2 separate regions of the Homo sapiens genome follow, and region 2 is linked to region 1. Evidence: promoter capture Hi-C in 16 types of primary human blood cells and fetal thymus (Javierre and others, 2016). All regions are on one chromosome and are shown on one strand. Each heading gives the region's core, a stretch centred on a gene start or on the middle of the fragment in contact. The rest is flanking DNA. Distances are from core to core; before and after follow the strand shown.

The links. Contacts are between HindIII fragments. The CHiCAGO score rates a contact against its expected background, and 5 or more counts as called.
Region 2: a fragment that was not itself captured here is called in contact with the fragment with the promoter of CXCR4 in region 1 in 1 of 17 cell types (non-activated CD4 T cells); the score reaches 6.2 in non-activated CD4 T cells.

What each region holds. Positions count from the first base shown.
Region 1 is chr2:136,116,437-136,123,229 of GRCh38, forward strand. CXCR4 (C-X-C motif chemokine receptor 4) reads right to left here and starts at 1,713. Exons shown (of 2, transcript NM_003467.3): 1 at 1,610-1,713. The coding sequence starts at 1,624. RefSeq lists a silencer at 335-504 and an enhancer at 635-704. The HindIII fragment of the contact is 7,141 bases long and covers 1-2,147 here.
Region 2 is chr2:136,178,604-136,185,480 of GRCh38, forward strand. No RefSeq gene overlaps it. Among named protein-coding and RNA genes, the nearest start is that of CXCR4, 64 kb to the left of the region's middle. The HindIII fragment of the contact is 342 bases long and covers 1,250-1,591 here.

The DNA.
Region 1 (6,793 bases), core at 463-2,962:
GCAAAAACTTAATTTTCCCACGCCTGCCTAAATACAAACCATTCTGGGCTTCAAGCAACTTGTAGTGGGTAAAGAGAATGCGGTCTTAAAACGAAGGCCCTTCGGTGCTTGGGGTATATTGGGCGGGAGTGTCAGAAAATGAACAAACGGCACCTCCTCCCCCAAGCGGGCGCTCCTCCGGTGTGTGGGTCTCTTGCCATCCTCGTGTTTATCACTTGGCGCGTTTGGGACGTTAGGGAGCGGGGCATTTTCCTGGGTGGAGAAGGTAACGGGGTCTGCACCCGTGGTCCTCGCCCCAAGTTTCATTTCCTCACTCTCCCGGGTGGCTTCCCATTACCCCGCCACTGATCCAGTTAACCCGGCCGGAGGTGGGCAGCTGGAAGCCTCCAGGCGGTGGGCACGCGGGGGGCCGGGTCGTCCAGCCCCGGGCCGCCGCGGCTGCCCACTACACCCACGCCAACCGCCCGCAAGCAGCGCTGCAGGGGCTCCGCTGGGCGACACGCCAGGCTCTGTCCCACAGGGTGCTGGGGAGCGACTGGGCGGCTCCGCCGCGAGCGTCTTTGAATTGCGCGCCGCTGCAGGAAACCAAAAACTCCCTAGCAAGAGGGTTTCAAAAGGTTTCTGGAAACCACCGACGGTTAAACATCACAACTGGACTCGGAGAGAGCCAAACGGTTTCCCCACTTGCACCTGCCAGTCTTCGCGGCGGCGACCTGGCAGCCCAGGTGCGGTCTTAACCGCCCCCGCCCCTCACCCCGTACCCGCTCCTATCCCCGGAGCGCAAATCTCAGGGCTGGCAGCTGCGCGGTGTCAAAGGGGAGGTCAAACCACTCCGCTGACCTCTGCACGACCCCAAACTCTCGAACTGCAGGACCCACTCGCGGCCGTGGGGAAGAGGCGCGCTTCGGACGGCGGGAAGGTTTTCCCCCTCAAACCCAAAGCGCGCGGGCGGATCAACTCCTAGCTGCTGCCACCACTCGATCCCCTCAGAGGATCGGCGCGGTGGGTCCACCCGCCTCTCCCGCCCTCTGCCTACTGTGCTGGGAGACTGGCACAGCTCCGTCGGCCGCACAGAGTTTAACAAACACGCACCCAGTGTCAAGAACAGTCACCAGGCGCTTAACCCCGAAGTTAAAGCGGGCGCAATCTCCTCCTGGGAACTCAGCCCAGGCACGCCGCCCTCCGCCTCTAAATTCAGACAATGTAACTCGCTCCAAGACATCCCCGCTTCCCCAAGGAAGAGACCGGTGGTCTGAGTCCCGAGGCAGCGCGCACGCCTTCTCTGCACTTGTGCACAGAATGTTCTTACGTTTGCAAACAGCGTGCAAGCCGCCGCGCGCGGCGGGACTCAAGGGGGAGACACATGCAGCCACTGGAACGCTCTTTCCAGTCGTTTCTCCTCGACTCACAGAGAAAAAGATTCCAATCCTGCTCCCCCCCCACCCACCCGCACTATATAGGCATGGTCAAGAAAACTCCTTTCGGTGACCCTTTTTTGGAGTACGGGTACCTCCAATGTCCTGGCCGCTTCTGCCCGCTCGGAGAGGGGCTGCGCTCTAAGTTCAAACGTTTGTACATTTATGACAAAGCAGGTTGAAACTGGACTTACACTGATCCCCTCCATGGTAACCGCTGGTTCTCCAGATGCGGTGGCTACTGGAGCACTCAGGCCCTCGGCGTCACTTTGCTACCTGCTGCCGCAGCCAACAAACTGAAGTTTCTGGCCGCGGCCGGACTTTTATAAAAACACGCTCCGAGCGCGGCGCATGCGCCGCTGGGGCGGGGAGGGAGAAGGCGGGGTGGGGGAGAGGGGCAGACGCGAGGAAGGAGGGCGCAGGGGCGGGGCGGAGAGGTGCGCGGCTTGGGAAGCCCAGGGGACCCTGCTGTTTGCGGGTGGTCGGTAGTGAGTCCGGAGCCGGACAGGACCTCCCAGAGGCATTTCCTAAGTTTGAGGGAAGCGGGATGCGCCTGAAGACAGGTGGGAAGCGCGGGCTAGGAACGCGTCTCTCTGTGGCGCGTCCATCCTTGCTAAAGTGGATGGAATTCCAGACCTGGGAATGCTACAGTAGAGACACTGAGGCCCAGGGAAGGGGAGTGACTTGCTGGAGTAACCCAACCAGTAGGCGGCAATGCTGGAAGTAGGGCCAAGCTTCCAACGCCATTCCCCGCGCTTTCAGCAGACGCAGCCCATTCAGGAGGTAAAAGGAGTAAAGATCCTTCCTTCGGAGGATGTAGCTATACTTGCACATTCACAGCATCACTAGGGTCAGGTGCAGATAATTAGGAGATACTTTCAGAAGAAGGTAGGATTTGGCATAATTCTGGAGACTGATCAGATGTAGATATGTATTGCTCAGTAATTTCATAATAGCGGTAACCAATTCGCGAATAGTGCTTTATTATCCTAAAAGTATGCTTTATTATAAGAGTAATTTAGCGACCAGTACTTTTTGTAACAGATCACTAGGAACTTGCACAGAATCACTCATTCATTCTCACAACACCGTGTGGGTATTACCATCACAGAGATGCATTTAGTCCGATATTTATAGAAGGACGAACTGCGTGCCACGCACTGTTCTAGGCGTTGGGGATCCAGCGTGAACCAGACAAGGCCCGCATTCGGAGAAACCAGCAAATAAGCCCGGAGAGATGAAATGCCAGGGATGGGCAGGGATTCCAAGCCGGGCTTGAACCCAGGTCTTCGGTCCCCATACTCGGCGTCTTCCACGATTTTGAGCAGAGGACAAGCTTTGGCACGAATCAGAAATTAGGTTGAAGAACTGGGCGGGGCGGAGTGGGGGTGGGGGTCAGACGTTTAAAGCGATCTCAGACTGGCTGAGGTTTGCAGTGGGCGCGCAGACAGTGCTTTCCCCCTCGCGCCACTTCCCTCCGGCGCGGAGACTGGGTGGGGCGGGGGAGCGAGTGTGGGGCGGGGCCGAGAAACTGCGTCCGCAGGCGGGGTGGCCGCTGCGGAGATAGCTGGGACCGAGGCGCGTGCGTCGCGACACGGACCCCAGAGGCCCCCACCCCGAAATGGTCCCGAGGAGAGGGATTGCCCAGACTGCACTCTACACACGATCCCTCTTTTCTATATCAAAAGAGGAAACATTTCAGTCTGGAGTGTTCCAGAGGTAGTTCGGAGGCAGGGAACCTTTTCTCTACAGAGCATGACTTTCCCCCTTTGTCTGGGACCCCTCCCTAATGTTGGTGGTTAAAGGTTCTCATCTACTCTGCACTTTCACTGACACAGGAAAGATGATATCCGGGCCGGGAGATGGGACTCTCAGAAACGAACGAGTTAGGACACACACTAATGGCCAGATAAAATCAATTCTAATATTACATTTGTAGAATTAAAAAAAAAAAAAGAAACTCCAGGTTCTTGGAGGGTGGTGGCTGGAAGAGGTTTCGGAAGCTCCACGCCCCTTCTCACAGGCCTTGCATTACGTATCTCTTCATCTGTATCCTTTATAATATCCTTTATAATAAACGATAACGGTAAGAAATAAAAATGAAAATAAAACCGTAAAAACACTTTTACTTTTTTCGAATCTTTAATAAAACTTAAGGATCTTCATATTTTTATAGACACGGTAGATCCTATCTACTGAAGGTCTAGAATTTCAGAGCGTTTTCATGACTTGCTTTTCACAAAGCCTGGTAGTGGCAGAATCAGTATGTTTTATCCTGGACCGTAAGCTGCACCCTACCTCAAAACTCCTCCCTGCACGATGTCTAAAACCTGAAAGGTGAGATCTCCCAAATCTGTCCAAAAAGGGAAAGAGGAGAAAACTCGGAGCAAAATGGTTTGCATAATAAATATTTGTTGATTGTAGACAGACAAAAGAAAGCTCCTTCCTTTATCTGAAGACTCCTTTCAGATCTTTTTAGGGATCTCTACTAAAAGGAAGCAGATAATTAAAAGAACAATGAGATGCTATTTGGTGACTACCAAATTAGGCAAAAATCCATTTTTTTTCAAAGATAATATTTGGTCTCCGGATTTGAAAAGACCAGCTGTCTCTCGCTTGTCACTGATGGGAATGTGGCTTGGGACAGCCTCACTGGAAAGCATTTTCTATTCAGCAGGAACTTCAGAACAGTAACTCCACTCATAAAAACTTATGCCACAAAGGTATTTGTGGAAACATTTTTTTTTAAATAGTGAAATGTCTGAACATCCCTAAATAACCACTGTTAGTGGAATAGTTGACAAGATTTTGGTTCATCCACATCTGAAATTCCATATGGACATCGCGAATGTTATTTGTGAAGAATTTTTAGTGACATGGGGAAATACTTATGAAACATTAAGTGCAAAAGGCAGGATTCAGAATTGTGTATATAGTGTGATCTCAGTTATGTTAAAATATGCATTTGGAAAATATAGGGAGGAAAACCAAAATGTTTATAGGCGTTTTCCTTGGTGCAGAATTATATTTGATTTTTGCTTTCTTCCTGGGGTTTTTCTATGCTTTCCAGATTTTCTGTAATAGACATGAATCATTTTCATATTCATAAAAAAGCCAACAAATTGTATGACAAAAAGGGAATCAGAAGGCCTCCTTCATGTATGTTTCCACTTCTAAAGTATCTACTAAGATGTCAGACTTTTTTCACAATAGTCCTTTCCCCTTTCAAGGAAGGCTTGTTTTCCAATGGGCTAATCTTAAACTTCTATTTCCACTGGGCTACCTAAACCTTATTCTCAACTATTCTATGATGTTCTTTAAAAAACAAACAAAACTCAAGCATTTACTGAGCGCTTGTTATGTGCAACTGACCTCATATAATCCCCTCAATAACTCTACAAGGCAGGTGCCATTACTTTTATTACATGGTAAAGAAATTAGGGTCTGGAAAGATGAGGAACTGGCCTGTGACCCCGGAATGAGGATCTGCACCCAGTCTGTCTGGCTCTGAAGCCCAGGTCATTTGGCATTTACGTACATACTGCTTTGAGTGGCATCCCTTGTGATGTTACTCAACTTTTAAATGAGTATATGTCATACTCCTATCCCTCCAATATTTTAGGTTCCTTAAAGTGAATGCCCAGATATCCTCTATCCAGCTAGCCCATTGCTGAACAAATACTGGGCTCCTTAATCTTTTACTGAACCTTTCTTAAAAGAATGAATGACTTTCCTGTGTGGCTCTGGCAACAGAGTCAGGCTTAGGGGCTGTCAGGGATTTGGCAGGGTCCCCAACTTCTCAGGTTGGCTTTAGCCCAGGGAATAACTAGCCTTGGCCACAGTTTGGAGGGGATGCTTACAAATCCAGTGACACAGTGGCAAGCATCCTGCCACCTCCTGTTGCTCGCTCTGCAGCTGGTTGATTTGTGTGTGAGTGTGTGTATCTGTGTGTGTGTGATGAAAAGCTGTACTCTGTCCCTAAATTGGCTTCATGTTAGCTAGGCAGAAAGCTTAGGAACAGACCTTTTCCCAGTGGTGGATGGCAGGAGGTTAGAGAAAGGAGGAGGTGCCAGGAGGAGGTGGATGGCAGGAGGCATTAAAGGCCTTCAGAATACACAGGGTCTTCTGGTTCCTTCGCTGGCCCCTCTCCTGTCTCTAAAAAAATTGATCGCTTTTGTTTCTGAAAGAGGAAAAAAGTGCAAACTTCCTTGACAGTAGTAAGGGATACTTAGAGAAAGTTAATGTTTTCCTAAGTGATTAAAAAAAAAAAACAAAAACGGAGACTATTTCTCAAGGCGCAAGTAATTCTAACACAGGGTTACAAATCTCAAAGAGACAATGGTATCAAATGTCAACTATTTCCAAGCTGGTGTTAGGTGGAACAAATTGTCCCTTGCCTAACCACACCCCGCCCTCTCCTCCTTCCCTAAATCCTTCTGTCTCCAACACCTACAGATGAAAAGTGACTTTGAAAACAAACCCAAACCTTCCATCCTACAGTTCTTTACCAATTTAGGAAATTATTACTGTTTTTTGGGGGAGAGCCATTTTTACTCTAGATTTAAGTTGTATCTTGAATGTTGAAAAGGTCTGCCTTCACTAAAATGGGATGATTAGTGATTTCCATCAATGCTTTATAGCAGTCAAGACTAGTCAACAAATTTCCTATACAAAGAGAATAAACTAGACTAGTAAACAAATATAGGCAATTTAGAGCCATCCTGGTAAGTCATTTAAACAAAACAGCCACTTAATTAACAGTGCAATGATCATTACTCTACTAGTTCCACTGCCAGGAGGATGACTGTTCACAAAGTTTGCTGTGCTCCTGTGGCAGGTGCTTGTGTGGCTTTATGGGTGTAAAGAACAGCAGCAAACAGGCTCGGTGCTATTGCCTCAAAAATCATGGTGTCAAACTGGGAAGGAGGGTACTGCTTTAGGAAATAATTGAGTGAGTGAACCCTGTCCTCCATGGAATAGGCTTGTCATTGTTTTCCTTAAACCAGTAATTTATTGGTGGTGACCTCAGACAGCTATATAAAAAGAGGAAGCGCCTAGAGCCCTGTGGACTGTCAAGTTTTATAAAGAGAACTGGGCATCCCATGGCAGAGCCTTGGTGCTCCCAGAAATGTGGTGATCTGATCGCCCATACAGATGGGCTTTGAGATATTTCTGAGGTCATTCTTCCAAGAATATTATATTAGCAAAAGAACAGGGTGGGAATTACTTGTGTGTGTGTGTGTGCGTGTGTGTGTATGTGTGTGTGTAGGGGAATCCATACAATGTTTTGCTTGAGTTTTCTAAATCTAAAGCTATCTGTCAGCTATCAAAGCTGTGTCTTTGAGATTTGTAACCTTCTGTTAGAATTACATGCCCCT
Region 2 (6,877 bases), core at 171-2,670, 62 kb after region 1:
TAAGTCAGGAACCTCTGAAATTAAGGTCTTCAAGGGAGAAGGGAGAGGGTGGCCTTTCTAGGTTTTTATGGCTTGCTTTTGGGGAAAGTGGTTCTAGTTTCTATGAGCCACCTTAGGGAAGAGGAATTCTGATTTCTATGACTTGCTTTGGCAGGGAAAATAAAGAGGGGTAAGAGATAGGAGAGCAGGAGAAGGTCAGAGAGTCCTTGCTTCTGAAGCTTTCCAATTTCCTTCAGTTCAAAGTACTTAGCATGCTCAAGCGCCATACTTCGGGGTATCATTTTCTGAGCCCCAGTGCAAGTCAAGGCAATTGAACCAAGATGGTGTCAGATCGTTTGATCTGGTCCATCCATTGGGCATGGGAGGGAGGCAGCCACAAAGTCTTGGTGAAAATGGGGTGAGAGATGGGCCTTTGTGAAATAGGGATAGAGATCTGAACCCTGCAGGGTTCCTAAATGGATGAGCAAACCAACTGGAACTTGTCACTAGTTGGCTCTGGCTAAAGGTGACTATAATAATAACCTTCTTTTACGATAGCTGGGTCCTCTCCTCAGAGCTTCAGGCTTTCTGAATTCAGAGCCTTCCTTAAGGTAAGGAAATGGCAGTTTGCTTGAATACAATGGTCTTTTTAAGGCAGCTCAGATGTTTATCTTATCCCAATATTTACCCTATTGAATAGGATTTGGGTGGCTTATTTTTCTAATTCTCTGGGGAGTGAGATTTCGTTGTGTTAAGTTGAATATCAACTTTTAAATGAAAAAATGGATCAAACTGAGAGAAAATCCTGTTCTGACCCAGGAGAGAAAAAGGCTCTGGTAAAATCTGGCCTGGATTTTTCTCTACCCATAACCTTGAGGGTAAGGAGCCCAGGGGAATGGCTGAAACAACTGCAAAAAACAACTACAGGACCCGAGTCCAGGCCTGCAGCAGGGAGCACCCAGGATGTTCTAGAATCTGAGTGCCTAGAACAGCTATTGACTGAGCCAGAGCTCCCACCCCCTTGACTCCCCAGGTGGCCCTGGGTCTGGCCAGCCTTCCTGTTTGAGCCTGGGTTAAATCCTAACATCATTTATTTTTTCCCAGTTGGTCTGAAATAAGCCTCAGGAAATAGGATCTAGGACAACAACCTCTTCAAGTAAAAAGGACAATGGCCAAATTAGCCCTCAGGGTATAGGTATGTGTTCAGCTACCATATCTCTTTTTAGAATGGAAGATTTAATTTACAGTATCCTCTTGCACCACCACTGAAAGCTTCCCTTCAGATCAGACTCAAGACAACAAGTGTGTATTCAGATTATCTGAAAGTCTCAAGGGTTTTTTTCTTAGCCAGGACCATAAGAACTAGACATGTATTTACTTAGTTAATCCTCTCAACCATCCTCTAAAATAGGGTTTATAGATGAAGAAACCAAGGCACAGTGAAGCCAGGTTACGTCAGGATTAAATAGCTCTAGAGCAGCTGAGCCAGGGTGTGAAAGTGTGTCTGCATAACTCCGAATGCTGTGCTCTTAGCGCTATACCCTTGGAGCAGTCCTTGGAAACTAAGCATGGTGTGGGTGTGTAAAGGTAGTGGGCTTTATTTCCCTTAGTAAGCTTCCAGTCAGGTTAGAAAAACAGGACTGGCCAGAGGAGGGGAAAGAATAAAGCGATTGCTTGTAAGTTTAGAATTCAGGTCGCAGTGTGTGTTGTTTGTGTGGTTTCAACCAAATTCTTTAGGTTTCTGAGATCGTGGCAGGAAGGGAGGACATGCTGCCACTTCCAAGACACCTGAGCAATTTCATTTGTGCTCCTTAGTGGCTGAAGGACCCATGGGTAAGTAGTTCAGCAAGAAAAGACTGCAGTTGTGCCAGACAGTGGGCATCTTTTTGCTCTGCACCTTTCCTGGAGGCTGAGACTTTGTGAAAAGAGGAGGTAGACAGCAGCTGCCCATGAGCTCATGAGAATAAAAATCTCAAAGCAGCCTTAAGTATTGTACCAGCAAGGTCTTTCTCATCCAGACTTTCACCTCCAAACATGAGAATTTCCCTAGTGATATTTACACATCTCCCATCAGGGAAGCAGGATATTTCCCTGACCCCTTCATGGGCAGGAACTGGAGTGCATGGGTGTTAGAACAAGCTGGCTGCTTTGGTGCCAGAAGAAGTAGACTCCACTATCTTGGTCCCACTGTGTTTCACCCCTTTTAGCAGGAGCAGCACAGGTGAGTGGGTGCAGGAGTCTGGGCGAGTGCTTTTGGGAGCCAGTAGGAGCAAAACTCCGTGTGGGCCCTGCAGCAGCATCTAGGATGGGTGCCCGTGACCCCTGAAGCCCCAGAAGGAGTGTTACAATGCCCTTTTAGCTCTGCCATCCACAGATGGCTTAAGTGTTAACAGCTCAGTGGAGGGTCAGTGTGACAGCCTTTTGCACCCACACTCACGACACCCGAGTTCTTGTTTGGTATCCAGGAGGAATGAGGTTGCACGAACGAATAAGAGATGGTAAATGCAGGGGATTTTATTGCTGATGAAAGTGGCTCTCAGTGGAAAGGGGAGCTGAAAAGGGAACAAAGTGGGAAGGTAATCTTCCCTTGGAGTCTGGCCATCCCCAGCCGGACTTGTCTTCAAAGCTACACCATCAAGCTGTCTCTCTAAAGTCAAGCTGCCTCTCTCTGACGTCCAACCATAGTTTCCAACATCCAGCTGCTTCTCCTCTCTGCTGGCTGAGCCTGGGGTTTTTATGGGCACAGGATGAGGGGCGAGGTGGGCCATGGGTTTTGGAAAAGGCAACATTCAAGTGGGAAAATAGGGATGTATGTTCTCACTTTGGGCCCTGGTATTAGGCTTTTTGGCTTGAAGGTGGGGCCCTCGCCAGAAAACCACTCTCTTTTGCCCAGAATTTCCCTGTCTCCTGTCCCTGTCATCAGCACAGATTTGCTTATTCATTTATTTCAATCCACAAGTGTCTACTGAGAATGTTCTATATGCCAAACACTGTTCTGGAAGGTTGGAGCACACGAATGGAGCACATGAATGGTCTGTAGCATTAACAACAACAATGAAAACAACAACAATGTTTGTTGGTATAGTGAAAGGTGGTACAAGCAACATTAAAAATTAATCAGGCCAGGCGCAGTGGCTCATGCCTGTAATCCCAGCACTTTCAGAGGCCGAGGTGGGCAGATCACAAGGTCAGGAGATTGAGACCATCCTGGCCAACATGGTGAAACCTGGGCATGGTGGTGCATGCCTGTAGTCCCAGCAACTCGGGAGGTTGAGGCAGGAGAACCACTTGAACCCAGGAGGTGGAGGTTGCAGTGGGCTGAGATCGTGACACTGTACTCTAGCCTGGTGACAGAGCGAGACTCCGTCTCAAAAAAAAAAAAATACAGTAGGAGAAAATAATTGTACCATGTATGCCAATTAACTGGCCAATATGCATGATATGTAAAAAGCACCTATAAACCAATAAGAAAAAGACATCCCATATAAAAATAGGCAGATAAGAGGACCAGATTATTCCCAGAAAAAAAATTGGCTCTTGGCTTGCATTCAGAATTTAGCAATGTGGGAAAACCCATTCACGAGTGGTAAATGCTGCAAACAGAAATAGGTATGAAGGTGTTACATCACTTGTATGTTAGTTTCTTTAGTTTGGTGGTAGACAACTGAGCCAAAATTACCCTTAATAGATATCTTAAGTCCCCTCAGTAAATTGTACATGATTTTGCATGTACAAGCCTTTGCCCTAATTTTTAAGAAGCACTGGCACAGACTAAATGAAGGAACAGAAGGAATGCCTACCTGACAAAGTCTTGAGATTCACTCCATTCTGCCTTTAAAGATAATGGAGGGATATAGGTCAGTTTGGGTCTGTTGGGTTTAAGGTGCCCTGGGGTCCTCTGGCTGGAGCTGTCCAGCAAAGAGTGGTGAACACAGACCCAGGCTTACCTCATAGCTGGGGAGAGAGAGGCTGGACTTTGCACTGAGAATCAGCTACTTCTGTGGGTAGATGGGCTGGACTGGGAGTGAGGAGATGACTCCTCCTTGCTCAGTTAAAGTACTCAGAAGGAGTCCTAATGTTTTGGGGTAGATGAGCCTATCAACATCCTCCTGCCTCTGAGGGTAGGGCTCTGGAGACCCCTTGGGTGTCAGGCCCAAAGCAGGAGGCTCTGAAAGGGGCAAGAGGTGATCTTGGAAGAGACCACATGCATCTGTTTTCCCTAAAATGATTCTACCTCTAAACAGGAACTGGAGACCTCGGATGGCTGGAGAGAAGGGTTGGGGGAAAGAGGAGGGAGATGTACCACAGCTTGCTCTGGCTGGCTGTGTGGTGTGGCCTTCTTCAGGGTCCTCAGGAACTAGAGTGGGCTACTCAAACTTTAGTGTCCTTAAAAATCAACTGGAGAGTTTATTAACCTGCATATTCATGGACACTACCCTTAAAGATTTTGAATCTACATTTAGTTTATCATAAGGTCCTGAAATTTGCATTTTCATAAGCATACTCAGCGCTACTAATACAGCATTCAAACTGGCTGAAAAGATACATACAATACAGACATGTATTTAAAAATACAGGGAAGATAAAGGTGAAAAGATCCTTCGGGGCACTGGCTTGAAAGACAATCCAAAGGAACTATGCCACAGTATGTGGATGTTTGATAATGGGCATGTCTGTTGTGAACGGTGCTTTGGCATTCTGCCTTCAGCCTGCACTGAGAGATGTGGGTGAGACTGGCTATTGTGTTTGCTGAAGGATGTTGGGAAGATCCAGCCCCACACATAATAGAGCTTCCTCTTTAGAGATTCATAGAACGGGGTCCTTTGTATCCCACTTCTGGGAGACCTGTGCTTCTCCTCACTAACTGGTTTGCTCTTATCTTGTGGAAAATGGGGGTCTCCTAACTGATTGGATTTCTTGGTCTGCTCTCTCTTCTGGGAATCATGGCTGAATCAGTGCAGCCCACTCCTTATAACTGTGGTTTGCACTTGTGTAATAATCACTACTCCCCCCTCTACCAGGCTTCATATTAATGTCTTGCCTTTTGTTTCTCTGTCATGCCTGATGACTATTAAAAATTATTTTGGGGGTAAAATTCATATAGCATTAAATTCACCATTTAAACCATTTTAAAGGGTACAATTCAGTGGCTTTTAGTACATTCACAATGTTGTGCAAGTGCCACTAGTATCTGATTCTAGAACATTTTTGTCACCCCAAAAAGAAACCTTTTAAAAATTAAACAGTCATTCCCCATTTCCCCTCCCAACCAAGTCCTCAGCAACCAGTAACAGCTATTTATCCCTATGGATTTGCCAATTCTGGACTTTTACTTTATTTACTTTAAGTTCTGGGATACATGTGCAGAATGTGCAGGTTTGTTACATAGATATGCATATGTGCCATGATGGTTTGCTGCACCCATCAACCATCTGGGTTTTAAGCCCCACGTGCATTAGATGTTTGTTCTAATGCTCTCCCTCCCCTTGCGTTCCACCCCCTGACAGGTTTTGGTGTGTGATGTTCCCTTCCCTGTGTCCATGTGTTCTCATTGTTCAACTCCCACTATGAGTGAGAACATGTGGTGTTTGGTTTTCCGTTCCTGTGTTAGTTTGCTGAGGATGATGGTTTCCAGCTTCATCCATGTCCCTGCAAAGGACATGAACTCATTCTTTTTTATGGCTGCATAGTATTCCATGGTGTATATATGACACATTTTCTTTATCCAGTCTATTATTGATGGACATTTGGGTTGGTTCCAAGTCTTTGCTATTGTAAATAGTGCTGCAATAAACATCATGTGCATGTGTCTTTATAGTAGAATGATTTCTAATCCTTTGTGTATATACCCAGTAATGAGATTGCTGGGTCAAATGGTATTTCTGGTTCTAGATCCTTGAGGAATTGCCATACTGTCTTCCACAGTGGTTGAACTAATTTAAACTCCCACCAATAGTGTAAAAGTGTTCCTATTTCTCCACAGCCTCACCAGCATCTGTTGTTTCCAGACTTATTAATGATCGCCATTCTAACTGGCATGAGATGGTATCTCACTGTGGTTTTGATTTACATTTCTCTAATGCCCAGTGATGATGAGCTGTTTTTCATATATTTGTTGGCCACATAAATGTCTTCTTTGAGAAATGTCTGTTCATATCCTTTGCCCACTTTTTGATGGGATTGTTTGTTTTTTTCTTGTAATTTGTTTAAGTTCCTTGTAGATTCTGGATATTAGCCCTTTGTCAGGTGGTAGATTGCAAAAATTTTCTCCCATTCTGTAGTTGCTTGTTCACTCTGATGTTAGTTTCTTTTGCTGTGCAGAAGCTCTTTAGTTTAATTAGATCCCATTAGTCAATTATAAACAGAATCATACACATATTTGTGTCTGGCTTCTTTCATTTAGTACAATGCTTTCAAGGTTCATCCATGTTGTAACATGTATCAGTACTATACAGATTTTTATGGCTGAATAATATTCCACTTTGATGGCTATATCCATTTAGCAGTGGATAGACATTTGAATTGTTTCATTACTCTTTTAAAAAATATAATTTCGAAAATAAATTGTTCAACCAAAGACACATCTTGTATGTTCATTGCAGCACTATTCACAGTAGCAAAGACATGGAATCAACCTAGGTGCTCATCAGCAGTGGGCTGGATAAAGAAACTCTTATACATATACACCATGGAATACTATACAGCCATAAAAAGGAATGAAGTCATGTCATTTGCAGGAATATGGATGCAGCTGGAGGCCATTATCCTAAGCAAATTATCAGAGGAACAGAAATCCAAATAAGCATGTTCTCACTTATAAGTGGGAGCTAAACATTGAGTACTCATGGACATAAAGATGGCAACAATAGACACTAGGGACTACTAGAGGTGGGAAGGA